Linked DNA regions of Homo sapiens: all the other regions are linked to region 4. The links are contacts of gene promoters, found by promoter capture Hi-C in blood cells and fetal thymus (Javierre and others, 2016). All regions are on one chromosome and are shown on one strand. The core of a region is centred on a gene start or on the middle of the fragment in contact, and the rest is flanking DNA. Distances in the headings are between cores, read along the strand shown. Region 1 overlaps CPEB1 (cytoplasmic polyadenylation element binding protein 1). Region 2 has its middle 3.4 kb from the start of HOMER2. Region 3 overlaps HOMER2 (homer scaffold protein 2). Region 4 holds the start of AP3B2 (adaptor related protein complex 3 subunit beta 2). Region 5 overlaps HOMER2 (homer scaffold protein 2). Region 6 overlaps HOMER2 (homer scaffold protein 2).

The links. The method cuts DNA at HindIII sites, captures the fragments that hold promoters and counts their contacts. A CHiCAGO score of 5 or more calls a contact.
Region 1: a contact is called between a fragment that was not itself captured here and the fragment with the promoter of AP3B2 in region 4, in 1 of 17 cell types (M2 macrophages). The highest score is 5.9, in M2 macrophages.
Region 2: a fragment that was not itself captured here is called in contact with the fragment with the promoter of AP3B2 in region 4 in 5 of 17 cell types (non-activated CD4 T cells, naive CD8 T cells, naive CD4 T cells and 2 more); the score reaches 6.5 in non-activated CD4 T cells.
Region 3: a contact is called between a fragment that was not itself captured here and the fragment with the promoter of AP3B2 in region 4, in 3 of 17 cell types (total CD8 T cells, naive CD4 T cells and activated CD4 T cells). The highest score is 6.5, in total CD8 T cells.
Region 5: a contact is called between a fragment that was not itself captured here and the fragment with the promoter of AP3B2 in region 4, in 5 of 17 cell types (total CD8 T cells, naive B cells, erythroblasts and 2 more). The highest score is 6.9, in total CD8 T cells.
Region 6: a contact is called between a fragment that was not itself captured here and the fragment with the promoter of AP3B2 in region 4, in 1 of 17 cell types (total CD8 T cells). The highest score is 5.1, in total CD8 T cells.

Annotation. Positions count from the first base shown.
Region 1 is chr15:82,546,387-82,550,857 of GRCh38, forward strand. It overlaps CPEB1 (cytoplasmic polyadenylation element binding protein 1), which reads right to left. Exons shown (of 13, transcript NM_001365242.1): 10 at 3,074-3,272; 11 at 757-851; 12 at 55-135. Among named protein-coding and RNA genes, the nearest start is that of RPS17, 8.2 kb to the left of the region's middle. The HindIII fragment of the contact is 2,175 bases long and covers 869-3,043 here.
Region 2 is chr15:82,953,759-82,958,442 of GRCh38, forward strand. It overlaps a transcript of HOMER2 not described here. Among named protein-coding and RNA genes, the nearest start is that of HOMER2, 3.4 kb to the left of the region's middle. The HindIII fragment of the contact is 5,260 bases long and covers 1-4,684 here.
Region 3 is chr15:82,844,748-82,849,403 of GRCh38, forward strand. HOMER2 (homer scaffold protein 2) reads right to left here. Exons shown (of 9, transcript NM_004839.4): 9 at 4,236-4,656. Among named protein-coding and RNA genes, the nearest start is that of WHAMM, 37 kb to the left of the region's middle. The HindIII fragment of the contact is 1,426 bases long and covers 819-2,244 here.
Region 4 is chr15:82,707,271-82,712,037 of GRCh38, forward strand. It overlaps AP3B2 (adaptor related protein complex 3 subunit beta 2), which reads right to left and starts at 2,605. Exons shown (of 27, transcript NM_001278512.2): 1 at 2,324-2,605. The coding sequence starts at 2,436. It also overlaps the pseudogene LOC338963. RefSeq lists silencers at 2,129-2,388, 2,609-2,658. The HindIII fragment of the contact is 2,125 bases long and covers 1,079-3,203 here.
Region 5 is chr15:82,929,364-82,933,519 of GRCh38, forward strand. All of the region lies in intron 1 of HOMER2 (homer scaffold protein 2), which reads right to left. All of the region lies in intron 4 of LOC105370928 (a long non-coding RNA gene), which reads left to right. Among named protein-coding and RNA genes, the nearest start is that of HOMER2, 21 kb to the right of the region's middle. The HindIII fragment of the contact is 266 bases long and covers 1,754-2,019 here.
Region 6 is chr15:82,867,688-82,871,841 of GRCh38, forward strand. All of the region lies in intron 3 of HOMER2 (homer scaffold protein 2), which reads right to left. Among named protein-coding and RNA genes, the nearest start is that of WHAMM, 60 kb to the left of the region's middle. The HindIII fragment of the contact is 3,273 bases long and covers 1-2,934 here.

The DNA of each region.
Region 1 (4,471 bases), core at 706-3,205, 160 kb before region 4:
GCCCAGCCAACAATTTTTAATAGAGGGCAGGGACTTCATAGACATCGGACCCACCTGATCTCGACAGAAGAAAGGACCAGGCTGAGAACTGCAGATATGACACAGAGAATCTTCTAGGTAGGGGTCAATCTGAACCTGCACAAAGGCAAAATAAGATGATGAAGTGGCTCTTCTTACCAGGAGGCTCGATAGGCGATAGAAGAAGGGCACATTATTGGCCACACACAGGAATGCGGGATATTGGAATGCAGGATATTTGCCTGTTTTAAAGGAGGCTTGGAGAGAATTATGGGCCTGAAGTACAGAAAGGAGTTCTAGAGGACAGACTCATACACCATGCACAGTCAGGCTGGATGCCTCTGGGATTCAGGCAACCACACACCTTAATGCCTGGTCTTCTAGGCAAACTGTACCTCAGCCCTCTATCAATTAGCAGTATAGGCAAGTGTTCGGAGGATTCCCAAAAGGTTGGAAAATAGGAAGTCAGGCTACTGAGCAATGCCAAAGAAATACCACAGTGAGGGAAGGCACCCTACACACTGAAGAGGCTCAACAGTCCCAGTTCCCTTCCTCCTGGGCGTACAAAGACCAAGCCCACTCCCAAACCCTAACCTCAATGTTAATTCTCAGGAATTTGGCTCACTTCCCTAAACACACCCAGCACAAACAGCTTCAGGTCTCAGGCCTGCCCTGGGTAGTAACTGCCCAAACCCCTCTCATATACCCCAGAGTAAGGGCATAAACCAGCCAACTCACCTTCTTTGTGAACTTGGTGGTTTTGATCTCCACAAAAGCAGCGCTGACTGCTTTCAGGTAACTCCGTTGGTTATTGAAAGTCACACGACCAGAACCTAGGACAACAGACACAAGCTTCCCTTCTAACCAAATTCTCCCAAATGCTACTTTTTTTTTTTTTTTTTTTTTTTTTGAGATGGAGTCTCGCTCTTTCGCCCAGGCTGGTGTGCAGTGGCGCAATCTCTGCTCACTGCAAGCTCTGCCTCCCGGTTTCACGCCATTCTCCTGCCTCAGCCTCCCGAGTAGCTGGGACTACAGGCATCTGCCACCACACCCAGCTAATTTTTTGTATTTTTAGTAGAGATCGGGTTTCACCATTAGCCAGCATGGTCTTGATCTCCTGACCTTGTGACCCGCCCGCCTCAGCCTCCCAAAGTGCTGGGATTACAGGCGTGAGCCACCGAGCCTGCCCTAATGCTACTCTTTTAAAATGCAGGAAACCCTTTACGATACTAGTGCTGTCCGACAGAAATATAATGTGAGCTACTATGTAACTTTATTTATTTTTTGAGACAGGGTCTCCCTCTGTCACTCAGGCTGGAGTGTAATGGCGTGATCTCAGCTCACTGCAACCTCTGCATCCCAGGCTCAAACAATCTCCTGCCTCAGCCTCCCAAGTAGCTGGGACTACAAGCATGAGCCACCATGCCTGGCTAATTTTTGTATTTTTTTGTAGAGACAGGGTTTCACCATATTGTCCAGGCTGGTCTTGAACTCCTGGACTCAAACGATCTGCCCCACCTCGGCCTCCCAAAGTGCCAGGATTATAGGTATAAGCCATCATGGTCAGCCCTTATGTAACTTTAAATTTTCTAGTAGTCACACTGAAATTTTAAAACAGTGGTGACATTAATTTTAATAATATATTTTATTGGCCGGGCACGGTGGCTCACACCTGTAAACCCAGTGCTTTGGGAGGCCAAGGTGGGCGGATCATGAGGTCAAGAGATGGAGACCATCCTGGCTAACATGGTGAAACCCCGTCTCTACTAAAAATACAAAAATTAGCTGAGCGTGGTGGCGCACACCTGTAGTCCCAGCTACTCAGGAGGCTGAGGCAGGAGAATCACTTGAACCCAGGAGGCAGAGGTTGCAGTGAGCTGAGATAGCACCACTGCACTCCAGCACGGCAACAGAGTGAGACTCCATCTCAAAAAAAAAATTTTATTTAACCCTATATGTTAATAATATTATTTCCAAATGTGACAACAGCTGTGTTTCCAAAACTCAATGGGGCCACATTTAGCTGGTAGCTACCATATTCGTACCATATTTGACAGTGGAGATCATGTTAGCGTGAACCATTCAGGAATGGGGGAAGAATTTGCAGATCAAGATGGGAAGGAAAGATAAGGGACTCCTTCAGTGCAGGTAGAGCATAGGTTAAGGTTAAAGGATTCAGAGTGGAAGCCAAGATGCAGATAGAACACTTGTCTGAAGGGTAAGCCCAGCAGTTGAACTGAACCTCTCCTAGCCCTTAGGCACTCTGGAGACCTATTAAGAGAGCTGGAAGAAGCCCCATCCTGCCAAGTTCCTCCTCCGCTCCTGGGGCTTCTGAAGTCCCTGTTCTCAATCTGCTGCACAGTATTGGTGAGTACATGGTGCTCCTTCCTGACCAGATTCAGTGTGGGTGTGAAGACTAAGCATTTGGGGAGGTGGGTTAGCCACATGTTAATCACAGAGGTCAGGCTCTGCTCCACCTCCATACCTCATCATTGACATTTTGCCAGGACTGGCGAATTGACCTCCTTTCTCAGAGGAGCTGATCAAAACCTAGTGGTTAGGCCCACAGACTTCTGAGTTAGGAAAGCACAGGCCACACTCTGTTGCCTGACTCACTCAGAAAGTCCTCCTCCAGCCTGACCTGGTCTCTGACCTTAGACAATGCCAGAGCTTTTCAAGAACTTTTAATAAAAAACTCCAGGCAAGTTCAGAGAATTGCAGCCTTTTCATGAAATAGTACCTGTTGTCTGTTCCAAACTGGTTTCGCTGTGAACTCTGAGCTTCCAACAAAGTTCCTACCTCACTCTCACTTCTTATCACCTCCTGTAGTCTCCAATAGCTTTTTCTCCCACTGCGTGGGAGATGGTGGGTAGAGGGCTAGATACAGAAGGGCCAGTACTCGTGACTTGTCTAGAAAAAGATATTATGGTGCTGGTATATGCTGATCTGCAGACCTGGGTCAGGCCTCTCTCCTCACTCCCATGGGGAAGTATCACAATCTTGGTCTACTCCCAGGGGCCAACCAAGCTTTCGCACACAGAAGTGGGACACTTACCAATGGGATACTTGTGCTTATCTGTGTCAATCCCGGCATACACCACTCCACCAAATAGGTCGTTCAAGATGGCTGCCAGGGCCTCAGCATTTAGCATTCCATGCAGAGCACCGACAAACACCGTCCTGCTGGGGTCAAGCCTCTGAGATGGGCTCCGGACAAAGTTACTGTCGGCTAATACCCAGGGGATCACCTGCACCTGAAAACCACCCAAAGGTGTATCAGCCCTGGCAGAGAGCCACAGAGAGAGAGGTGCTTGCACGGCAAGGTACGTGCTCTGGAGATACTGAAGCTAAGCTAACGCCCTTACAGGGGTGAAAAGGTGCTGTTGCCCAATCTCAGGCACACAGGCGTCCAATAAACCACCCTGACTCCACCCCAACTGGAGTTGAATTTTACTGAGTCCATGTGTCCAGAATGGTAGAAGTGGACACAGTACTCACTCATGCTGGAGAGTAAGCAAAAAAGTACCACATGGCCAAACCCAGGAGCCCAGCATTCTATTTCAACCTCCAACTGTGTAGTTCCAACAAAGGGCTGTGGACACTGATGAAAAGGGCATAATCTGAAGTCCTCAAGAAAGGAAGGACTCACAGAGAAATTAAAGGCTAGGATCCTGAAGGACAGAGGGGTGGGAGTGCTTACGATATTTGTATGAGATGGTTACTGGCCCAACCTAGCCTTCAGAGGGTTTGTGCCAGAGCAGTGGAAATGACTGGCGAGAGGTTGGGTAGAAAGTCACATACAAGATCCCTGGAGTCTTAAAGGGCTGGGGCTGACCATGTCCTTTGCCTCTGAATCTCCTGAACCTGGAACAAAACCTTGTAGAGCAGGTGGAGGAGTCCAGAATGAAGTGAAGATCTAAAAATATGTCTTGAAGCAGGAAGAGATCTGAGGCAGAAACCAGCAAGGAGGCAAAAACAGTAGTTTCAAAGGACAGGTGATTAAGACTTGGACAAGGCTGGTGGCAACGAGCAGAGAACAGGCCAAGACCAAAGAGATTCTTCAACAGAAGAGTCTGCAGTACTCAGACAGCATAAGCAGGATGGGCAAGCAAGGAAGAATCAGGCCTGGTAGGTGCTGGGCCTACACGGTCTTGGGATGAGAGGACCTGGCAGAAGTTACAAGAGGGGAGCCAATTTCACTGGAAGATGAAAAAGCCAATTTTGCCCACAAAAGAGTTTGGGATTACAGGACATCCCGAAGAAGGATCCCACAGGAAGGTGAGGCTCAGGTAGGACATGAGGCTAGAAAGGTGAATCTGGGTCTAAAGGTGAGAGAAGCCACAAAGTGAGTCATTTATCTGAACTAGAAAAGAAGAAGGGAGTCAAAGATTGGCTATATTGGCTATGTTGGTGCTGGCGGGGAGAGGAACACAAAGGAAAAAGAAAAGTAGAG
Region 2 (4,684 bases), core at 981-3,480, 250 kb after region 4:
TGTAGTCCCAGCTACTCCGGAGGCTGACGCACAAGAATCGCGTGAACCTGGAAGGCGGATCTTGTAGTGAGCCGAGATCGCACCACTGCACTCCAGCCTGGGCAACAGAGCGAGACTCCGTCTCAAAAAATAAATAAATTAATTAATTAAATACATAAATAGCCGGGTGTGGTGGCGTGCTCCTGTAGTCCCAGCTACTCCCAGCTACTCGGGAGGCTTGATGCAGGAGAATCGCTTGAACCCAGGAGGCAGGGGTTGCAGCGAGCCGAGATCATGCCACTGCACTCTAGCCTGGTGAAAAGAGCCAGACTGTCTCAAAAAAATAAATAAATAAATACAAAATAAGTTTGTAAAAAATAAAATAATCTTGGGAGTTTCCAAATCCTCCATGCATAGTAATCAGCAATATCAGGAAAGTGAGCTTGTAGAACACTGAACAAGTCATTTATCAGGTAATACCTGAGGATTCTGAAGTGTTCGAATAACTTCAAAGGCAAGCCACTGAAATCAGAGTTTTTCATTTTTATTTTATTTTTATTATTTTTTTTTTGAGACGGAGTCTCACTCTGCTCACCCAGGCTAGAGTGCAGTGGCAGTGGCGTGATCTCGGCTCACTGCAACCCCCACCTCCCAGATTCAAGCGATTCTACTGCCTCAGCCTCCCCAGTAGCTGCGACTGCAGGCGCATGCCACCACGCCCAGTTTTTTTTTTTTTTTGTATTTTTAGTAGAGACAGGGTTTCACCATGTTTCGATCTCCTGACCTCGTGATCCACCCGCCTCGGCCTCCCAAAGGGCTGGGACTACAGGCATGAGCCACCGTGCCTGGCCGAGTTTTTCATTTTTTTAAACTACAATCCACAGTAAGAAATATATTTTACACTACAACCTGCAACCTGGTACATACTTCAGCACATACATACTATGTCTATAGGTATATCGATATAAAATAGAAACAAAAAGTTATATAAAACAATGTTTATCCTCTCACTTGCCAGGCAGGCATTCAGACATCATTCTGTTTTGTTGTTGTTGTTGTTGAGACAGAGTGTTGCTCTGTCACCAGGCTGGAGTGCAGTGGCATGATCTCAGGGCACCACAACCTCCGCCTCCCAGGTTCAAGCGATTCTCCTGCCTCAGCCTCCCAAGTAGCTGGGACTACAGGCGCGCACCACCACCCCAGCTAATTTTTGTATTTTTAGTAGAGACAGGATTTCACCATGTTGGCCAGGATGGTCTCCATCTCTTGACCTCGTGATCGGCCCACCTCAGCCTCCCAAAGTGCTGGGATTACAGGCGTGTGCCACCGTGCCCGGCCCATTCTGTTCTATTTTTAAAAGCAGTACTGCTCATAACCTACTAAATTGATTTCAAAACCTATAATCTACGTATTTTTACTTTCTTTTTCTTTTTCTTTTTTTTTTTTTTTTGAGACGGAGTCTCACTCTGTTGCCCAGGCTGGAGTGCAGTGGCGCAATCTTGGCTCACTGCAACTTCTGCCTCCTGGGTTCATGCAATTCTCCTGCCTCAGCCTCCCGAGTAGCTGGGGCTACAAGCGCATGCCACCACACCTGGCTACTTTTTTGTAGTTTTAGTAGAGATGGGGTTTCACCATGTTAGCTAGGATGGTCTCGATCTCCAGACCTTGTGATCCGCCTGCCTCGGCCTCCCAAAGTGCTGGGATTATAGGCGTGAGCCACCATGCCCGGCCTGTATTTTTACTTTCAACAGCAAAATTAGGCTCACCATGTACATGCATAATGTTGTTATTAGTGTGCTCAGATTTCTGGTATGGCTGGTCCAGGGACTTCAAACATTTTTTTTTCTAACCATAAAAGGTCAGTTCTTTCAACTGCATATGAAACAAATGTATTATTAAAGCCATTAATTAAAGGGATAACTGTCGGGTATTATGCAGCTATTACATTATATTTGTGAAGCCTATATAGTAACATAGAAATATATTTATTCTTTCAATAAATGTTGATCACCTGCTGTGTATCTGGTACTGTGTTGGGCATAAAGTGCTCAGCAAAACAGACGTCCTTCTGTCATAGGACTATAAGATTGTGTGAATGGTATTAATCAAATAATCACACAAATATATAAGCTACGATCTGTGTGAATAGGAGACCTAATTTAGGTTGAGGAGGATGGTCAGGAATGGCCTGTTGAAGAGACATTTAAAAAGAGGCCTGATGGCTGGGTGTGGTGGCTCATGACTGTAGTCCCAGCACTTTGGGAGGCCAAGGCAGGCAGATCACTTGAGGCCAGGAGTTCAAGACCAGCCTGGCCAACATGGCAAAACCCCATCTTTACTAAAAATACAAAACCTAGCCAGGCATGGTGGTACATGCCTGTAATCCCAGCTAATTAGGAGGCTGAGGCAGGAGAATCACTTGAACTCAGGAGGCAGAGGTTGCAGTGAGCTGAGATTGCATCACTGCACTCCAGCCTGGGTGACAGATTGAGACTCCATCTCAAAAAAAAAAAAAAAAAAGAAGAGGCTTGAAGACAAAGAAGCATCAGTCATGGGGAGCATGAGGGGAGGGTTCCAAGCAGAGGAAACTGCAACGGCCCTGAGGTGGTAGAGAATCATGCTGTTCTGAAGAGCTGGGAGAAGGCCAGTGTGGTTAGAGTGCAGTGAGCTTAGCAAAGCATGGGTGAAGTATGCAGGGCCCTTTGGCTGGATTAAGGATTTGCAATTTATTCAAATGCAGTGAGAACCCACTGATGGGTTGGGGAATGCCGTGATCTGGTTTATATTGTTAAAATATCACTCACTCCTGGGAGAAGAGGGGATAAGAAGGGGACAAGAGTAAAACATGGAGACTGGTTAAGAGGCTCTAGACAAAAGATAAGGGTGGAGATGAAGGGAAGTGGATTACAGATTATAGATATTTTAGAGGTAGACTCAATAAGACTTGGTGGATGGGATGTGTATTAGGATATAAAGTTAAGTTTGTAAAATAATCTGAATTACAGCTGTGCTATGAGTATAATTATGTAAAATTAGAAAATATGGACAAGGCCTGGAGTATAGAAAATGAAAAAGTTTATTAGGATGGCAGAAGGAATATAGGGTAAAGGCATCAGTATTAGACTCAGACCTGCATTAAGTCCTGGATCTACCATTGACTATCTGTGACCACGGGCAAGTTTTTAACTTCTCTGAGCCTCAGCGCTCTAATCTACGAAGTGGCGATATCTCTTTGGACTATTAAGAAGAGTGAATGAGAACAGGTGTGGTGGCACACACCTGTAATCCTAGCACTTTGGGAGGCTGAGCCGGGTAGATCACCTGAGGTCAGGAGTTCAAGACCAGCCTGACCAACATGGTGAAACCCTGTCTCTACTGAAAATATAAAAATTAGCTGGGCATGGTGGCACATGCCTGTAATCCCAGCTACTCGGGAGGCTGAGGCAGGAGAATCACTTGAACCCAGGAGGCAGAGGTTGCAGTGAGCCAAGATACTGTGTCACTGCACTCTAGCACGGGCAACAGAAGTGAGACTCCGTCTCAAAAAAAAAAAAAAACAGAGTGAATGAGATCATATCTGTAAAGTGCTTAGCTCAGTCCCTAGTATAGTACATCTTCAATACATTACAGGTATTATTATTATTATTACTGGCTATAATGGTGGAACTAGGGTGAAATTTTCATTTATTGTGACTGAATTAATATTGTCAAAATGGTTCTTATATAATCAACATTTTAAAATTTAGTACAGTTTGAGGATTCTCAATCTGCCCCCACCATGGAAACAGCTTGTGTACTTCCTGCCAGATAACACTTTGCCAATCTGTATCCAGAGCCCTCCATAGATTCAGGACCCCTCTACAGGGCACCTAAGGATCAGAGAAGACTATGGGCTGTCTCTTTAAGATGACACCAGATCAGTATGGGACCACCAGCCCTAGCCCCTGCTGTTTCCAATCAGGCCAAGGGCCTGCCCTTAGGAAGGTGAGCTATAAACGATTTCCAACAGTCCCATCTGTCCTCTGCCTCTCCCATCCAGGGCTCTCCTAAGTCTATGTGTCCTGGATGCCTCCAGAGATTTTGATAGCATCTACCCATTTTTCTTTATTTATTTATTTAAGACGGAGTCTCACACTGTCACCCAGGCTGGAGTGCAGTGGCGCGACCTCCACTCACTGCAACCTCTGCCTCCCGGGTTCAAGCGATTCTTCTGCCTCAGCCTCCCAAGTAGCTCGGATTAGAGGCATGCGCCACCATGCCCGGCTACTTTTTTGTATTTTTAGTAGAGACGGGGTTTCACCATGTTGGCCAGGCTGGTCTCGAACTCCTGACCTCATGATCCGCCTGCCTCGGCCTCCCAAAGTGCTGGAATTATAGGCGTGAGCCACCGAGCCCGGCCTACCCATTTATTTAATCTTAACTGAGCACCTATTTTGAGCCAGTCTGTGTCCTTAAACAATAAGCTAAATATAATGTAACCGAGGTATGAATAAGGTAGTTCCTGCAGAAGACTTCAAAAAGGGGATGTGTGAGTTGGGTCCTCAAGGATGTACAGGAGGGAAGATCATTTCTATGTCCAGCAACGAGACCAGCACATGCTGAGACACGGAGGCATTAAAGGCCATGACTTAAACAGGAAACGACAAGAATGTCCATGTGCTTGGCTCAACAGTGTGGTAGGAAGTGGCCAGGAACAAGAGGTAAG
Region 3 (4,656 bases), core at 282-2,781, 140 kb after region 4:
CACTCTTCTCATTAAACTCTTATATTTGATGCAAGGAATGTCTTCTTGCCTGTCACATCATAAGACGCTGCTCTCACAACTGACGTAAAGTCGGGACTTCCTATTAAAAGCAGTACAAGAGGGTAAAAACAATAGCACAGCCTCACAGCTGTGAATCATCAGTCCTGCCCATCACTCGCCAAAACATGCACCACTTGGGACTCTGCCGTGGTTTACGGGCTCCTGCCAGGTGCCCTGGGGGTCTCTAGGGCCCAGGAGAACACTTTGCCGCAAGGCTCTGCACCGTCAAAGAGAGTAGGGCACTGAACAATTCCACTTCAAACAAAAGATCCACAAACTTCTGGTAAATGGATTCCAGAACATAGATCACCACCACCAGAAATAGAAAATAAAGTCTCCTCTTAGGTATACATATTTTTAATTAAAAACGCTTCCTTACTGTTTCTCCCACTTCCCCTTTTGCTGTTTCTTCACACACACACACACACACACACACACACACACACACACACACGCGTGCGCACATACACAGTCGTAAGTTCACTAGAACATTTCATCCAGCTCAAAATTCTTACCAAAGCCACCTTCCTGCCTGGGTAGTGTTTAAAGCCAACTAGAAAACCCATATTCTTGAGATCGGTACATGGAAGAGGCATGTAAGTAACATTTTCTAGACTAGACAGGAGTCCCTCTCCATGCCAAAACCCCCATCATCTCCAGAATATATACTGTTTCTTTGGGGAAGCCATGTACTCAGAAATTAGGGTCCTTTTAAAGCATGCATATCTTTAAAAATATACATGGACATTGATCTTGCAAGCTTCTAGTTTGCAAGTGCTTCAAAATCTAGTGATGTCTCAAGGCAATGAAAGAATTTAGCTTCTAGAAGGATGAATGGAACAAACAATCCACTTCTGGATATTAGCAAAGACCAGTGGCTGCCTCTTTTGAGTGCCTGTGCTAAGTCACATCACGTCTGCCTTCTTCCCAAAGGTGCACCTGGCCACATGTGAGGTCCCACCATAACGTCCCCAGCGCGTCCTGTGGTTGGCTCTCATCCAAAATTGTCCCTGGTTTCTATAGAGAAGGAGACTTTTCTAAAGAAAAAGAGCCCTGTTAAAATAGGCAGAGCATGATGTTTCTGGGAGGCATATTCACTGTATTACGCTCCACCCTTTACTTGATGTTTTGCATCAAATGTAGTCCACAGCAGGCAGGCGCCTGCCCACCACCATCAAGGCTGTGCTCATGGAGCCTGCAGGCTGGAGACCAACTGCCCTCTGTGCACAGTCTTCCTGGGTGTTGATCAGGTCCCGTTCAAGCTGCTCCCACCACTGAGCAAGGCTGCTCCCTCCCCAGAAAGCCAGAAAGGAGTGCATCTCCAGGAAGGGGCGGGCAGTGGACAGGCCACCCCCAGCCAGAACTCTGTTTCCATTCCTGCGATCTCAGGGCCTCCCACTTGTTTTGAACATACTGCTCTGCCTCCACTAAAGCCATCAATAAAGAACTCAGGGTGTGTTTGTTTTCCATAGAACTGGCCTCACAGGCAGAGACATCATTTTAACCAACTTTCTTGGAAAGATTCCTGCAAAACCAGAATCATTCCAAAGTGGAACTTATCATTTATAACAAACATTCCTAAATGTCATTCGGATTCACATTTTTGTAAACTGTCCTTTGCTGTGGACACATATTGAAATAATATAATTGTAATATGCTCTTATCAGGATATAAGAATTATTTTCTCTTGGCACCCACGGGTCACCAAAGGGACTAGAGTGGCATGTCTCAAAAGATACTGCATCAAGGTCCAGGAGACCTGGATGCAGAGTCCACGCTGCTGGTCACCGCTGGGTGACCCTGGGCGTGTCACTTTCTCTGTCTCTACTTCCCATCTGCAAAATGCAGGTGACAGTCTCTGCCCTGTTCTCTCACCCAATTAAAGTCTAATGTGATGGCAGGCAGGAGAGATGAAACTGAGGGGCCACACAAGTTCGAGGTCTTGTGTGGATACTGGTTCTCTTTCCCTCCAAGGCCTGACCATACTGTCCCAACCTGTTGCTCTGGTGGTTTTACATTCCCCGGGCGGCACTAGGAAGGCTTCCTCGCCACTCCCAACTTTAAAATGCATCCAGCTGGGTCTTGACTGGAATGAAAGGTTATTTTTAAAGGTCCTCTTGGTTAAAGGGTTCCAAGTTTTAGTTGATCTTTTTTAGACACCAGGTTTCATGGAGGCAGAAGGAAAGCTTATCAAGGTATAGCAGCCAGTCTTGGAAACACCAAAATCAGGAGACCTCAATTGCAAACTGAAAATGCAGTCCTGGCCCTGCAGCTTCCAGGCAGCACAAGCGGCTGCGATGCTCACGAGTGAATGGCTTACATTCTGCCTGAGTCTGGCGTAAGGTTATGACAACAGTACTGAGACTGGGCTGGATGTCAGAATAAACGAGGGCACGTCACACCAGCTCAAGGGAACACCGTCCAGGTTGCTCCAGGGCCACTATTTTAAAAGAAAGTAAATGAAAAGACACTGAGATCTTCAGAGAAAAGCAGAAGGAATGGAAAGTTCAGTGCTTTTGTAAAAGCTGTTGTGCTTTCACGGCCAAGCCCAACTTACCTTTCCCTTTAAGGGAGTCCTTACTACTCTTAGCTCCAGGGTTGCAACAGCTGTAGAGCTGGACACACAGCAGGAGGAATCCAAGTTCCTCACCTGCTGCCCACAGGATGCTCACCACACTCTTCAGTGCTTGGTGAACTGGGATCATGGGTCTCAACTGCACAGCAGCCCACTGTGGAAATGGCTCTTCCAACATTTTCTACACCTCCACTTCTGGAGTTTTCTAAAGTCACTGCTATCAGAATGTACAAGTGGCTTCAGTAACTATTCTATGCATGTCACCTGAGCATTCTCTTGTCAGTCAAGCGGGCTCTTTCTAGATTCATAAGTCACCTGATAAAGGCAGAGGTCATCTGAAGACCCCAGCGGAAGGTGTTTGGAACCCAGTGTCCACTGCTCCCAGGCAGCCACACACCCAGCCTGCTGCTGGGCAGACCAGGCTGGCTTGAGAATCCCCTTATCCCGCTGCTGGGCCACGGGGCTGACTCATAGCCAGCTCGGCTCTCTGGTCTCCTGGTGCAGCCAGGAGGGAGCTGCTACCAACTGTCCTGAGAGCCGTCTGGAGCTCTGGGGAAAGGGAAGGGCCAGCAGCAGACTACCCCGAATCACAAAGATGGCTGGCCACGCTTTCCACTTCCTGTCTGCCAAAAGCCCTATGTACTCAACCAAAGCCCCCACTCACCTTGCGGGAGCTCCTCTAAAAGTGCCTTGGTGCTCCAGATGCCCAGCCTTCCCTTCCATCCACATCCCAAACAAGACTCCCCAGCTCAGAGAGGCGTCTCCGTGAGGGGAAGGGAAGGAGAGCAGGAGGACTCGTGTTCACCTTGGGGCCCAGGGCACCTGGGTTCGGACCCCATCTCCCTCCTTCCTCGGGTTGTTTGCTCATTAATCCAAATTCAGCAGGGAGAAAGTCTAACCACGTCCATGGGAGAAGGTTTCTAGAAGGAGTAGTCCTCTTAGGTGGTTCTCAAAGGGGTGAGGGGGCACCAAAGCCTCCCCCCTGCTCAAGGCATTTAGAGATGTGTGGGGCCAGGGATTCAAGCCATTATTGCCACACACGGGCAATCTCCCAGGGCAGGATGCCAACAGCACCCACAGGCCCGCTGGCCCCACTGAGCAGCTCTGTGAGAGAGGAGAGGTTTATGGCTGCAGTCCCTTCCCTAGGAGAAACTGAAAAAGGCAGGACGCAGAGCTGGGTGGAACACCTCTGTCATGAGGGCCAAGGCTTGTCAGCTGAGCTGCTCTCTCCCCCCGAAATGCCTGTGATTTCTTCCCAGCTGTCCAGACCCATAAGACAATCCTACCCTAGGTACCAAGCCCTGGGCAGCCCCTATACCTGGAATCCCTGGGTCACCATTCCTAGGGGAGAAGGTGATTCGAGGGTCTGGAGAGCCCCAGGGGCAGAGCATCACGGATGGGCTCCAGGGGCCTGAGACCAGCTCCTGCTGCTTCCCCTTCTCCCTCCCTGCCCCAGGGCCACCCGAGCCCCAGCTTGGGTTTGACCAGACAGTGGTATTCATGTCTGTTAACTACCCAGCACAGCAAAGATGGTGCATCATTCGACAGGGTCCCAGCTCTGCTGTGGGGTTTGATTAAAACACTAAATTCTGTGTACACATTTAATTGAACAAATATTTATTAAGCACCTACTTTGTGCCAGACATTGTGCTAGGCACCCTCACTGTGTGCTGTTCCCACAGCACAATCATCTGCTCAGAAATTAAAACCAAGAAAAGGAACACTGTTGCAACCGTACAAACTGGGGGGGCGGGGGGCAGGGGGCAGTAGCGTGGATGCAGGCAACTCCGGGCCAGAAAATGCACCCACCAGAAGCTTGTTTTCCATCTCTCAGAAAGTTTCCACTAAACAGTTGTTTTAAAGCCTCTCGATGTTGACAGAGAGGAATGTTGTTCTCTCTGTGCCCCCCGGGGCTGGTGTCTGGTGGACATTCAAATACTCTGAATGCTATTTGATAAAAGGAGCCTGATGGCTTGGTGTAAAGAATATCAATATTTGGATTACAAAATGCGTGTTTTTTC
Region 4 (4,767 bases), core at 1,355-3,854:
CACCAACTTAAAAAGGACTGACAATACTTTTACCACTTGCCCTTCTCAGAATTTGGGCCTGTCCTCGGAATGCTGCAGGGTACAGCCCATTCAAGCTCCTGTATAGATGCTCCTTTTTATTAGGCCCCAGTCTCATTCCAGACACCAGACCAACTTGGACTGTGCCCCAGAAAACTTGTCATCCCTACTATCTTCTGACTAGTCATACTCCTATTCACCATACTCAACTACTCATACATGCCCTGCTCTTGTTTACACTGCCGGTTTACACTGTTTCTCCAAACCATTACAGCTGATATCTCCTGGTGCTATCCCCAAACTGCCAGTCTTAACTCCCTCTTAAAGTAAATAAATAATCTTTGCTGGCAGGGCTATGCTGAACCTCCTTGGGCACTCTCTAATTGGATGTCCTGGGTCCTCCCAATTCTTAGTCCTTTAATACCTGTTTTTCTCCTTCTCTTATTCCATTTAGTTTTTCAATTCATACAAAACCGTATCCAGGCCATCACCAATAATCCTATACAACAAATGTTTCTTCTAACAACCCCACAATATCATCCCTTACCACAGAATCTGCCTTCAGCTTAATCTCTCCCACTCTAGGTTCCCACGCCACCCCAATCCCGCTCGAAGCAGCCCTTCAAGGCTATGGAGAAGCAGTATCTCTCCATACCACCCCCCGCCAAAATGTTTGCTGCCCCAACACTTCAACACTATTTTATGTTATTTTTCTTATTAATAAAAGAAGACAGGAATGTCAGGCCTCTGAGCCCAAGCTAAGCCATGATATCCCCTGTGACCTGCACGTATACATCCAGATGGCCTGAAGTAACTGAAGAGTGAAAATGGCCTGTGCCTGCCTTAACTGATGACATTATCTTGTGAAATTCCTTCTCCTGGCTCATCCTGGCTCAAAAGCTCCCCCACTGAGCACCTTGTGTCCCCCCACCGCCAGAGAACAACCCCCTTTGACTGTAATTTTCCACTACCTACCCAAATCCTGTAAAACGGTCCCACCCCATTTCCCTTCGCTGACTCTTTTTTCGGACTCAGCTGGCCTGCACCCAAGTGATTAAAAAGCTTTATTGTTCAAAGCCTGTTTGGTGGTCTCTTCACATGGACGTGCGTGAAAATCCTCATCTTCTCCCCCTGTCCCTCTAAACCCCCACCCAATATCCAATTAATCATCAGGTCTGAGGCTTCCACCTCTTCCACAGCCTCAAATCTTCTGCCTCTCCCCTGGTCTAGGCCACAATCATGCCAGGCCTGTGAACTTCAAGACCCACCTCCCTTGTCTCTTGTTCAATCTGGCCCACCTCCAATCTCTTCTCCACAATGCAGCAGCCTGACGTCCTTCTAAAATATAAATCTGATTATGTCGCCTGCTTAGAATCCTTCAGGAGTCCTCCCCACCCTCTTTTCTGGTCAGTCCAGTGGCTCACACAGATTGTGGCCTGGCTCTCAACCTTCCTGAAAGCCCTTTCCTCTGCCTGGAACATACCTCACGCTCCTGTCTTCCTTCTCTCCGGCGCCAGAGACTAGGTCCTCTCCCTGCTCCCACTGCCCCCATTACACTCGACTGTCCCTGACTGCTTCTTCATCTGTGCTCCCCTCTAGAGCATCGTGAGGACAAGAAGGGTCTCATGTTCACAGTTGTATTCCGTGACTAGTTCAGGACTCGACACAGTTGGCTTTTCATAAATGCTTGTTGCAGAATTTACGAATAAACAAATGAAGAAACAAACGAACGAATCAAAGGTGGGGGAGGGTGTGAAGGTGGAGCTGAACTACAGGGGCAATGCCAGGAGCAGGGATGTGAGGGTCAGATGGAGATGGGGACCAGAGGGAGGGGAAATGAATTTGCAGCAGGGCCAAGCTGGGAGGCTGTGCAAGTACATCCAGGGCCCGCCTTCCTGAAGAGGCCCCAGGCTCAAGCTCAAGTTCGCTGACTCAGACCCCTCCCCCACATTTTTGGGAAGCCAACCCGCCTAGCACGAAAAAGGAAGGGAACCCCTAACGCAACGCCGCAAACCGGAGAAACACCTGGAACCGGAGGGTTTCTCCTCTCGAAACTGAGCTGGCCCATCCCCCGCCAGCCCCTATCTGCCCCCCTCCGCGTCCTAGGCCGGCCCCTGGAGCCGGGGTGCCAGCGCTGCCCGCGCTGGGCCGGGGCTCCAGGCCGCAGGAGGGGGCCGGGCGGGCTTCCGGTCGGCGCGGCCGGGGCGGGGCCGGCGCTGGGGCCGGGCGCTGTCCATGGTGCCCGCGCGCCTCGCCCGGTCCCCGGCCCCAACCCTCCCGCGAGCTTCCTGGCGGGCTCCCTCACCGCTTGTAGTCGGAGGAGAAGATGCCGCCGCTCGCGGGGTCGTGGCCGTACTCGGGCTCCCCGGGGCCAGCGGAGCCGCCCTTGTCTTCGCTGTAGGCGGGGGCGGCCGACATGGGGCGGCCAGGGAGACTTCGCCGAGGAGGAGGTTGCGGGGCCGGAGGCCGGCTGGAGCGGAGGAAGGGAAGGCGGGCCGGTCCGGTCCGGGCTGGCGAAGGCGGCGGCGCGGCAGGGGTTCAGCAGAGGCTGCAGTGTGCAGCGGCGGAGGCTGCGCGCGGATTTCTCAATCAGGGCCGCGCGCTGAGGTCTTAAAGGCACCGGCGCCAGCCGAGCGGAGGGCGTGTCCGCGAGGAGGCGACAGGGGCGGTGCGTCAGGGCCTGGCCCCGCCCATCCCTAGGAAATGCCCTCTTCAGGGCGTCTTCTGCCCTTTAAAGCGACTTGGCTCGTCTCCAGATCTAAAGGTGGGCGAGTCTGCTGGACGGACGCTGGGACCGTCTTGCAGGGGATGTGGAATAGCTGCCCCCACCCCCGACCACCTGGCCTCGGCGGGACGGGCCTCTGGGGCTCCGCTCTCCCCAGACGCACGCGCGGATGCTCACCCACGCCGTGGAGGGAAAGCGGGAACTGGAAAGAAGGCTGTGCCCGCAGGCTGGGGGTTCTAGAGCGGGAAGGGGTCACCGCACCCGAGGACCGGCCTCAGATACCTAAGGACGCTCCCTTTCCCGCCCCACCTTTCCTACAAAATCTGGCTTGGCAGCAGGAAGCCGAGGAGCTTCCTGGAGGTGGCGGAATTTAAGGAATTAAGGTCAGGGAGCTCCGAGGAGCCCTTGGGGGCTTAGAGAGATGGGAAACAGGATACAGAGGACGGTGAACATCTAATTAAGCTTTGGAAAGTAGTTTAATGAATCTTTCTGAAGCCTCCACGTCCACCCAGGAGGGCCAAGGTCATGCTTAATCCGGGGACACGTCCACGTCCATTGACACCTGAAAAGGAAGAGAAGGGTCTGGTGTGACCACCAGGGCTCCTGAGTCATGTGAGCCCTCCAGTTCAGCTCCCGAGCCCGAGTGACCCCTAGGCCCAAGGAAGGAAGGCTTGGATCCGATGGAAAGTAGTGAATTGGGCTGGGGGAAGAGGTAGGATCCAGTTGGGCATCAGTTGAGGTGGCTGGAGTCTTTTAGCTGGGCATGGGGACTGGAGGAGTTCCTAAGGCCTGAGTCTTGGTCTGTAACTAGCATCCCGAAGTCTCCATGGGCAGAATTGGCGGGCCTACCTGGGAAGGAGTGGGGCCCAGAAAGGTGGAGCTTGGCTCAGTAGAAAAGTTCTATTGGGGGTAATTCTACTGGGGTAAGGTTCTATTGGGGTAATGAGAAGGTTCTGTTGGGATAACCTAGACAAGTGGGTGGGTCCGCTTGGTTCCGGTGGCTTTGTGCCTGCCAGAGAAAAGTGGATCTTGAATTTGGAGAAAACTGGCCTGGGTGGGGAGTGGGAAGAGAAGGGCCTGGATTTTGCAGTTGCGCGTTTATAAGGCGCTTTGGCTAGTCTGCTCAGGAGGTGGGATGGGTCCTGTGCAGGTAGCTGGGCCACGCTCACCGACCTGCTGGAGCTCCCGTCTATTTGCCGGGGGTCCAGGCTGGGACCTGGGACGAGCAGACACAGTGCAAAGTGCACACAGTTGCTGCGCATGGAGTGATAGGATGGTGGGTCCGCGTCCGTCGCTTCGCTCACTCTGCGCAGCACGCGCCAGCAGGAGCGCAGCAGCGGGCGCTGCCCCTGTTTGGATACGATGCCTTTCCAGGAGCCCAGAAACTTCCCAGGAGCCCACAGCCTCCTGAGTTCTTGCCTGCGGGGATCGCCAGAGGGGTGCGGATCAGAGCCAGGCTTAGGTCCTATGCCCTGTGATCCCGCACCCCCATTTCCTGAGACCTCAGGGACCCTGAGTGCCCAAACCCCATTTTCAGAGAAACGTACCCCCAGCCTGGGACTTCAGTCTTTATCCCCGAGTAGCCAGCTCACTGGTGGGGCGTGGCTTGGCTGGGCAGCCTCTCCGCAGACTTGGGCCTGTGTTTCTGCTGGAGGCACTCACCCTCAAAGTGGATGATCTCTCCATGGCCACAGTATATGCCAACGTGGGCCCCGCACCAGCGTCAGGTGGGGGGAATCAGCCTGAACAGGAAGACGTCTCCTGGCTCAGGCTCCCTGCCCTCCAACTACACAGCCTCGAAGTGTTGACCCAGGAAAGCCTCAGAGAGGAAGAACTTAATGGTGCTGACTGCCCCAGTCAGGGCCTGCATGGAGAAAGGGACCTGCCTTCCTGGCGTTTACACAGGCCTGGGATAGGGAGGAGGTGGGTCCTTCCAATGACCATAGGTCGGATGGTCTGCCCAGGGCTCAGGGAGACCTGTCTTGGGCTTGGGCCCAAGGCAGAATGTCTTCACTGCCACACAC
Region 5 (4,156 bases), core at 637-3,136, 220 kb after region 4:
ATCCATAGGAGGCCAGGCACGGTGGCTCACGCCCGTAATCCCAGCACTTTGGGAGGTCAAGGCGGGTGGAACACCTGAGGTCAGGAGTTCAAGACCAGCCTGCCCAACATGGAGAAACCCCGTCTCTACTAAAAATACAAAAATTAGCCAGGTGTAGTGGTACACACCTGTAATCCCAGCTACTTGGGAGGCTGAGGCAAGAGAATCACTTGAACCCAGGAGGCGGAGATTGCAGTGAGCCGAGATCGCGTCACTGCACACTCCAGCCTGGGTGACAGAGTGAGACTATCAAAAAAAAAAAAAAAAAAAAAATCAAAGGAAGCCTCGGCTACTAGCCTCCACCCTGTTACAGGTATGCTAACACAGTTTTGTTGTTTTTTTTTTGAGACGGAGTTTCGCTCTTGTTGCCCAGGCTGAAGTGTAGGGGCAGGATCTTGGCTCACCTCAACCTCCGCCTGCTGGGCTCAAGTGATTCTCCTACCTCAGCCTCCCGAGTAGCTGGGATTACAGGCATGTGCCACCACGCCTGGCTAATTTTGTATTTTTAGTAGAGATGGGGCTTCTCCATGTTGGTCAGGCTGGTCTTGAACTCCGACCTCCAGTGATCCGTCCGCCTCGGCCTCCCAAAGTGCTGGGATTACAGGCGTGAGCCACCACGCCCGGCCTAACACAGCTTTTCTGAGGCACATCTCTGCTTTTGGTTTTAGACTTCAAGTTGTACTCTTGAAATAAAGGCTGTTTTTCTCATGGAACTATAAAAGTCTCACAAAATGTGACCCTCTGGGTGACTTCCCTCAGGGTCGGACCACACACATAACCACCAACTTCACTCTGTGTGCTGGCTGTGTGACCTTAACCAAGTCACTCCACCTCTCTCAACTCTAGTTTATCCATAAAATGTGAAGCTCAAATGAAATACCGTATAAAGGGAGTCAATAAGTATTAGTTACCCCGGCAGAACTCACTCTTCCACAGAAACCATGTAAGATACCACAAGGACCGCCTGGCATGACCTGACGTCTGTACAGCATGCCATCCTGCAGCCTCAGAGGTAAGCGTCCGGTGCAATCACAGAGTGCACAGACAGCCAGGAAGCAGCTCTGAGATGCCATCACTGCCCCTGAAGGGAGGGTCTTCTGCCTGAAGATAAAGTAGCCTTTTCCCTGCACAGATTCTCCAGAAGTTTCCACCAAGTGTACAGAGAAACCACTGCCAATACTATAGTTGTTGGGAGGATACAGACTTGGGCCTGGCCCACAGTCATCCCACATGGACAGTCATGTGGCAGTGGAGGGGCAAATTAAGGCCAGCTAAGAATTCACTGTTTGTCTGATACAAACAGCTGATGGATGCAGCTTTTCAGCAGAAAACTTGCATTCTGGCTGGGTGTGGTGGCTCATGCCTGTAATCCAAGAACTTTGGGAGGCCGAGGAGGGTAGATCACTTGAGGTCTGGAGTTTGAGACCAGCCTGGCCAACATAATGAAACCCCGTCTCTACTAAAAATACCAAAGTTAGTCGGGTGTGGTGGCGGGCACCTGTAATCCCAGCTACTTGGGGGGGCTGAGGCAGGAGACTCACTTGAACCCGGGAGGCGGAGGTTGCAGTGTGCCCTGTGCACCTCCTGCCCTGTGCACACCCCGCCTATGAGAGGTGCTCTTGGGCTCCCTCAGTTGCCCATACAGAGCCAAGATCTAGCCACTGCACTCTAGCCTGGACGACAGAACAAGACACTGTATCAAAAAAAAAAAAAAAGCTTGCATTCTACCACATGCCACCTTCATCCTCTTTTATGACATTTCCAGGGTTATGCCAATTTCACCAAATGCCTAAAAGGCAGTATTTGAAGCTGTACCAATTTTTGCTATGAGGACAACTTCGTCCAGCACCCACAGAGCTCTGCCCTTGAGAGACAGGCCCCCTGGGGCCACAGTGTGACCAGCCTGGGCTGACACTGCCATTCTTAGTGTACTCCACTTAATTATTTAAGGCATGAGGCATTGTTTCCTTCTCAAGGCAAAGCTTTCAGAACATTTAAAATTCATGGGAGAAGCCAAGGAGTAGCTTTTTTTAGCTCCCTCCCTTGAAGCCAGTGATATGGCTTTCAATCAGGCTGTGGGATTCCAATTCCAGTTTTTCAGAATATTTCATCCTTGGTGAAGCATGCCTGCTTTAAAAAAAAAAAAAAAAAAAAGGCCAGGTGCGGTGGCTCATGCCTATAATCCCAGCACTTTGGGAGGCCGAGGCAGGCAGATCACGAGGTCAGGAGATCGAGACCATCCTGGCTAACACGGTGAAACCCCGTCTCTACTAAAAATACAAAAAATTAGTTGGGTGTGGTGGCATGCACCTGTAGTCCCAGCTACTCAGAAGACTGACGCAGGAGAATCGCTTGAACCCAAAAGGCAGAGGTTGCCATGAGCCGAGATCGCGCCACTGCACTCCAGCATGGGCGACAGAGCGAGACTCCGTCTCAAAAAACAAAACAAAACAAAACAAAACAAAACTGACAGAAGAAAAAGAGAGGACACTCTCACAAAGTCAAACTCAATTAACCAGCAGTTCTGTCTCACAGGAGTCACTTTAAATTTACTGAATCTGATTCTGTTAGTGCCAAAGAAAGACAGGAGCCCTAACCATCACTAGGAACACACTGGGTGAGGGGAAGACAGGACTTTCTACTACGAGATAAAGCTGTGCTCAAACCCAGGCCTGGGGGGCCTAATTCAGCACTCTTCTCACCCAACTCCATCCATATTATGGAAGACAGCCCAATGCTAGAGACCATCTAGGTGGGCAAGCAAAGGCCTATGCAGGAGAGCTCATTCCCGAGTAAGATGTAGGGAAGAGGGCCGGGCGTGGTGGCTCACGCCTGTAATCCCAGCACTTTGGGAGGCCAAGGAAGGTGGATCACTTGAGGTCAGGAGTTTGCGACTAGCATGGCCAACATGGCAAAACCCTGTCTCTGCTAAAATCACAAAAATCAGCCAGGCATGGTGGTGCGCACCTGTAGTCCCAGCTACTTGGGAGGCTCAGGCAGGAGAATCGCTTGAACCTGGGAGCTGGAGGTTGCAGTGAGCCAAGATCACACCACTGCACTCCAGCCTGAGCCTGGGCAACACAGCAAGACTCTGTCTCAAAAAAAAAAAAGAAAAAAGAAAAAAAAAGACCTGGGGAAGAGCTACCCACCACACCCCAAGGCAATGCCATACGGAACAGTATTCTCACACCACAGAGGAGTAATTGAGGCCCCAAGACAAGCTGATGGTGCACTCCCTAAGATGAGAATTAATGCGCTGCCTCCTGAGCCACACCCCTGAGCCTCCACAAGGGCTTCATCACTCCCGCAAAGCTCGGCCCTCAAGACACTCTCTCTGAGGATGAGGAAAACCCAGCAATGTTCAAAGCTGTTTACTCCTCAGAACAAGGTTTGGACAAAGCTTTTGGCGGCATCACAGGCCTTCTCCTCCTGCCTCCTGCCCTGTGCACACCCCAACTGTGAGAGGTGCTCTTAGGCTCCCTCAGATGCCCACACAGAGCCAAAGCTGGGCTCCCTCCCACCGATCTGAACCCCACTGGGTGGGTCCACATAGAGCAAGCTCCCCACCACAAACGGCAGCTGGTAATCTACAGGGGGGCGGCTCTCTCCTCCCCGTGCCCTCACTGTCAGCTCAAGTTGTCCCTTCTCTAGGCTAAGTATGCCCAAGTCCTTTAAACAGGTGGTGCTAATCTCCTTTGGATCAAGGACCCCTTTGAAAATCTGATAAAAAAAAAAAAAACTATGGACACCCTCCCCAGACAAGCACACACTTATCTACAACTCTCCATAGGATGGGCAGGGGTGTTCAGAGACCCCACATCCCACATTAAGAACCCTTCCTTGAGATGAGGTCTTGCTCTGTCATCCAGGATGGAGTGCAGTGGTGCAATCATGGCTCACTGCAGCCTCGACCTCCTGGGCTCAAGGAATTCTGCTGTCTCAGCCTCCTGAGTAGCTGGGACTACAGGTGCATGCCACCACACCCAGCTAATAAAAAAAGAAACAACAACACAAAAAATGACTGGTAGGGAAGAGGTCTCACTACATCACCCCAGGCTGATCTCGAACTTGTGGCTTCAAGCAATCCTCCCACCTCAGCCTCCCAAAGTGCTAGGTT
Region 6 (4,154 bases), core at 48-2,547, 160 kb after region 4:
GGTGCAGCCCCACTGAGAAACTATTTGGAAATATGTCTTGTTAGTGAAAAAAACATTCATACCTACTGACCCAGTGATACTGCTTCTGGGAAACCATTCTGCCAAAATAATTGAGAATATGGGGGGAAAAAAGGCCCTCAATACCAAGATGTTAATTCCAGCATTGTCTACAAATATGGAACACTGGAAACAACCCAGTGGGCCCTAGGAGAATGATAGAGAGAAACTTCCTCTCAAAGCCTCCAACTAGCAGAAGAAAACTGCCAGTCATGAGAGCCGCCTAGTAATTGTCCTTTGGTGAAAAATCGCCTCCCTCCAAGTCTTGCATTTTCTAATATTTCCCCCTTATTCTTAAAAAAATATATATATATGCTTGTAAATTTGGAAAATACAATTTAGAAAAAAATATTTTTTTCATATGATTGTTGGCTGCATGTATGTCTTCTTTTGAAAAGTGTCTGTTCATGTCCTTTGCCCACTTTTTAATGGTTTTTTTATTGTTGTTGTTGTAAATTTAAGTTCCTTATAGATGCTGGATATTAGACCTTTGCCAGATGCACAGTTTGCAAAAATGTTCTCCCATTCTGTAGGTTGTCTGTTTACTCTTTTGATAGTCTCTTTTGCTGTACAGAAGCTCTTTAGGTTAATTAGATCCCATTTGTCACTTATAAGTAGGAGCTAAATGATGAGAACACATGGACATATAGAGAAGAACAACACACACAGAAGCCTACTGGAGGGTGGAGGGTGGAGGGTAGGAGGAGGGAGATGATCTGGAAAAATATATATTTTTTAACTTTTAAGTTACATAAGTTATATATATCACTTATTTATTTTATATATATATATATATATTTTTTTTTTTTTTTTTCCCCTTTTGAGACTGAATCTTACTGTATCTCCCAGGCTGGAGTGCAGTGGTACGATCTTGGCTCACTGCAACGTCCACCTCCCAGGCTCAGGTGATTCTCCTGCCTCAGCCTCCTACTGAGTAGCTGGGATTACAGGCATGCGCCACCACGCCCGGCTAATTTTGTATTTTTAGTAGAGACGGGGCTTCACCATGTTGGCCAGGCTAGTCTCAAACTCCTGACCTCAGGTGATTCGCCTGTCTTGGCCTCCCAAAGTGCTAGGATTAGAGGCATGAGCCACTGCGCTCAGCTATATATATATATATATATTTAGACCTACAGTCCCATTGAGGTAGGAGGCAGGACTCAACTCTGGACTAGACGGAAGACTGGTTAATGGGCTCACCAGAGCCATGACAGTTTACTCATTCCCTGGCAATGACCTAGAAGTTACCACACTTTTTTTGGAAATGTTTGAATAACCTGCCCCTTAATTTGCATGTAATTAAAAGTAGGTATAAATGCGACCACAGAACTGCCGCATAGCTGCTCCTCTCGACACACTGCCTACAGGGTATCCCTGCTTTGCAGGAGCAGCCACAGGGCTGTAACACTGCCACCTCAATAAAGCTGTTTTCTTCTACCACCAACTCACCCCATAATTCCCTCCCAGGCAAAGCCAAGAACCTTCCCAGGTGGAGCCCCAATTTATGAGCTCCCCTGCCCTGCAACACCATCATCCAAGATAAGAACAAACCACATAATCTTCTGATATTTTTCTGTCTGTATATTTGCATTCATTACCTACATTTCTTTTAAAATAGATTATATATCTCATTTTATGGCCTCTTTTGAAATAAACAATATGATATTAATACTTCCATGCAATTATATGATTTTCTACTAAACATCTTTTTTTTTTTTTTTTTTTTTTTTTTGAGACAGAGTCTCACTCTGTTACCCAGGCTGGAGTGCAGTGGCGTGATCTTGCTCACTGCAACCTCTGCCTCCCGCGTTCAAGTGATTATCCTGTTGCAGCCTCCCAAGTAGCTGGGATTACAGACGCCTGCCACCACACCTAGCTAATTTTTGTATTTTTAGAGGAGACAGGGTTTCACAATGTTGGCCAGGCTGGTCTCGAACTCTTGACCTCAGGTGATCCACCCGCCTGGGTCTCCCAAAATGCTCCGATTACAGGCATGAGCCATCACGCCCAGCCTCTATTACACATCTTGATCGCTACATATTACCCTGAAGGATACACTGCAGTTTAACCAATTTCCTAGTACTGGATGTTAGGGCTTTTAAATTTTTTTTATGTTATAAATGATGCTGCAATCTTTGTACTGATATCCTTATACTCAGTTACAATTGTTTCCTTAGAATAGATTCTTGTCAATGAAATCCATGGATCAAAGGATATTCAAATTGCAAAGGTTTCCGAAATGTATTGCAAAATTCTCACATCTTCATTAAGGTCATTTTTTGGTACTTATTAAAATTGTGGTAATAATTTTAAACAAAATCATTATCATGATAGAAAATGAAACCATTACTGTTTGATTTCATTTGTGGCTTCTTTTGGCCTTAGCCATTGAAGACCTGAAGCAAACACTACTGTTTGTTTATTCAAAATCTGTTTCTTTTCCCGTAGCTTAACAGAGTCTCAAGTTTTTCTGGAGCAGGAAATTTCCTAGGTGCTAGAGAATGAAAGCTAGTCTAAGCCAATCATGGAAATCCGTTTCCCTGGTTTTTGGTGGGGTAGGGGAATGGGCTAGGGACCCAGCATTGATAATGGGGCCCCAGAAGTCTGCCAGGGGGGTTGCTGTGGTACCAGCCTCTTCCTCCTCCCTCTCGCCAAGAATGCAGGTGTGATGGGTAGAGCTTTAGAAGCCATCTTATCACCACAAAGGAAAGGCCGATAAAAGAAAAAAGAAACAAATGAAATCCATGCAGATTGTCAGACCCAACATCATGGAGCCACTGTACTAGCAACCACCTGCCTCAGGACTTCTTCACATGAGAGGAAATTATCCCATGTATTTAAGCACGGTGATTAGGTTACCTGTTACTTGCAGCCAAAAGCTTTCTACCTAAAACATGTCAAAATAATTATTAATATCCTCCATTTTAAACATTAGCTGTTAAATCAGGACCCAGAAAGGGAGGAGATAAAACAATGTTCTTACGATACTGAGTGAATAAAGTGACTACATGGGGACAAATTTGAATTACAGATGAAATCACTGAAGTGGGTCAAAAGCAAATGCCATGCACGTATCGGGGTTTGGCCAGATCAACCATGGTGCACTGGCAACGCCATCCTGGGTCGCTCCCCATTAAGGGCAGAATATGTTTCCTTCTGCCTGTAATGAATAAGATGGAACCAAACTTAGAACAGTGACAACTCGAGGTCAAATGCCAGAAAGAAACTAAACTTTAACCACTGGCTCATTCTTATATTTGTTCCTCCTTCTGTCTCCTTTCATAAGCTCTTCCTTTTATCAGCACATGCAAGTGCCTTTTCAATTTCCTTCAGTAGGCTGGGGTTTTATGTCCTCTCCAGTGGGTGGACAGACGAGTCCCAGTTTACTTCTGAGAAAACACAGCTTCTACTATTTTTGGACAGCCTATCTAAAGAGCAGGAAATTGCCCTGTAATAATACTTTTTGGACTGTGGTTGGGAAATAGTCCTTATAATGGAGCAGTTAAGACCAAGGCATCTATTTTCTTTCTGGGGGGTAGAGAGGGAAGTATGTATAAAGTGTTCTTAGATGAAAATGTCCACACTGGTGTTCCTTTCTCTAGCCTAGTTATAGTGCTTGATTACCATTTCCCTACAGGGCTGTGGGTGGTTGCTCTGGGAAGTCAGGAATACTCAGCCTGGCTGTCCCCTCAGCACACGCCTTGGGAGCCCTGGAGGCCAAGTTCCTCTGTGCTAGCTAACTGTCACTTGTTGAGATGGCCAGACTCACTTCATGATAATTTATCAGCGTGTGGTTAATCATTTCCTTCAGAGAGCAGGGGAAGAAGTTGATTTGAAACATTTGGACAAAGGGGTTATCTGAGGGCTTCTCTGACAAGTCTTTGTGACGATGGAGGTTGTGGGCACCGAGCAGAACTCCAGCACTGCACCAGAGGCTGAGTGGCTTGGCAGGACGGTGCACTCCTCCTTAATGATAGGACATTTTCTTCTGTCTGGGAAAAATTAGATGTGGCCATCCCTGGAAGCCAGCACAGCTCAAGGTCTCTTCAGTTCTCAGAGAGGCACAGAGCATTTAACTTGGACAATGTGTTCTGGTT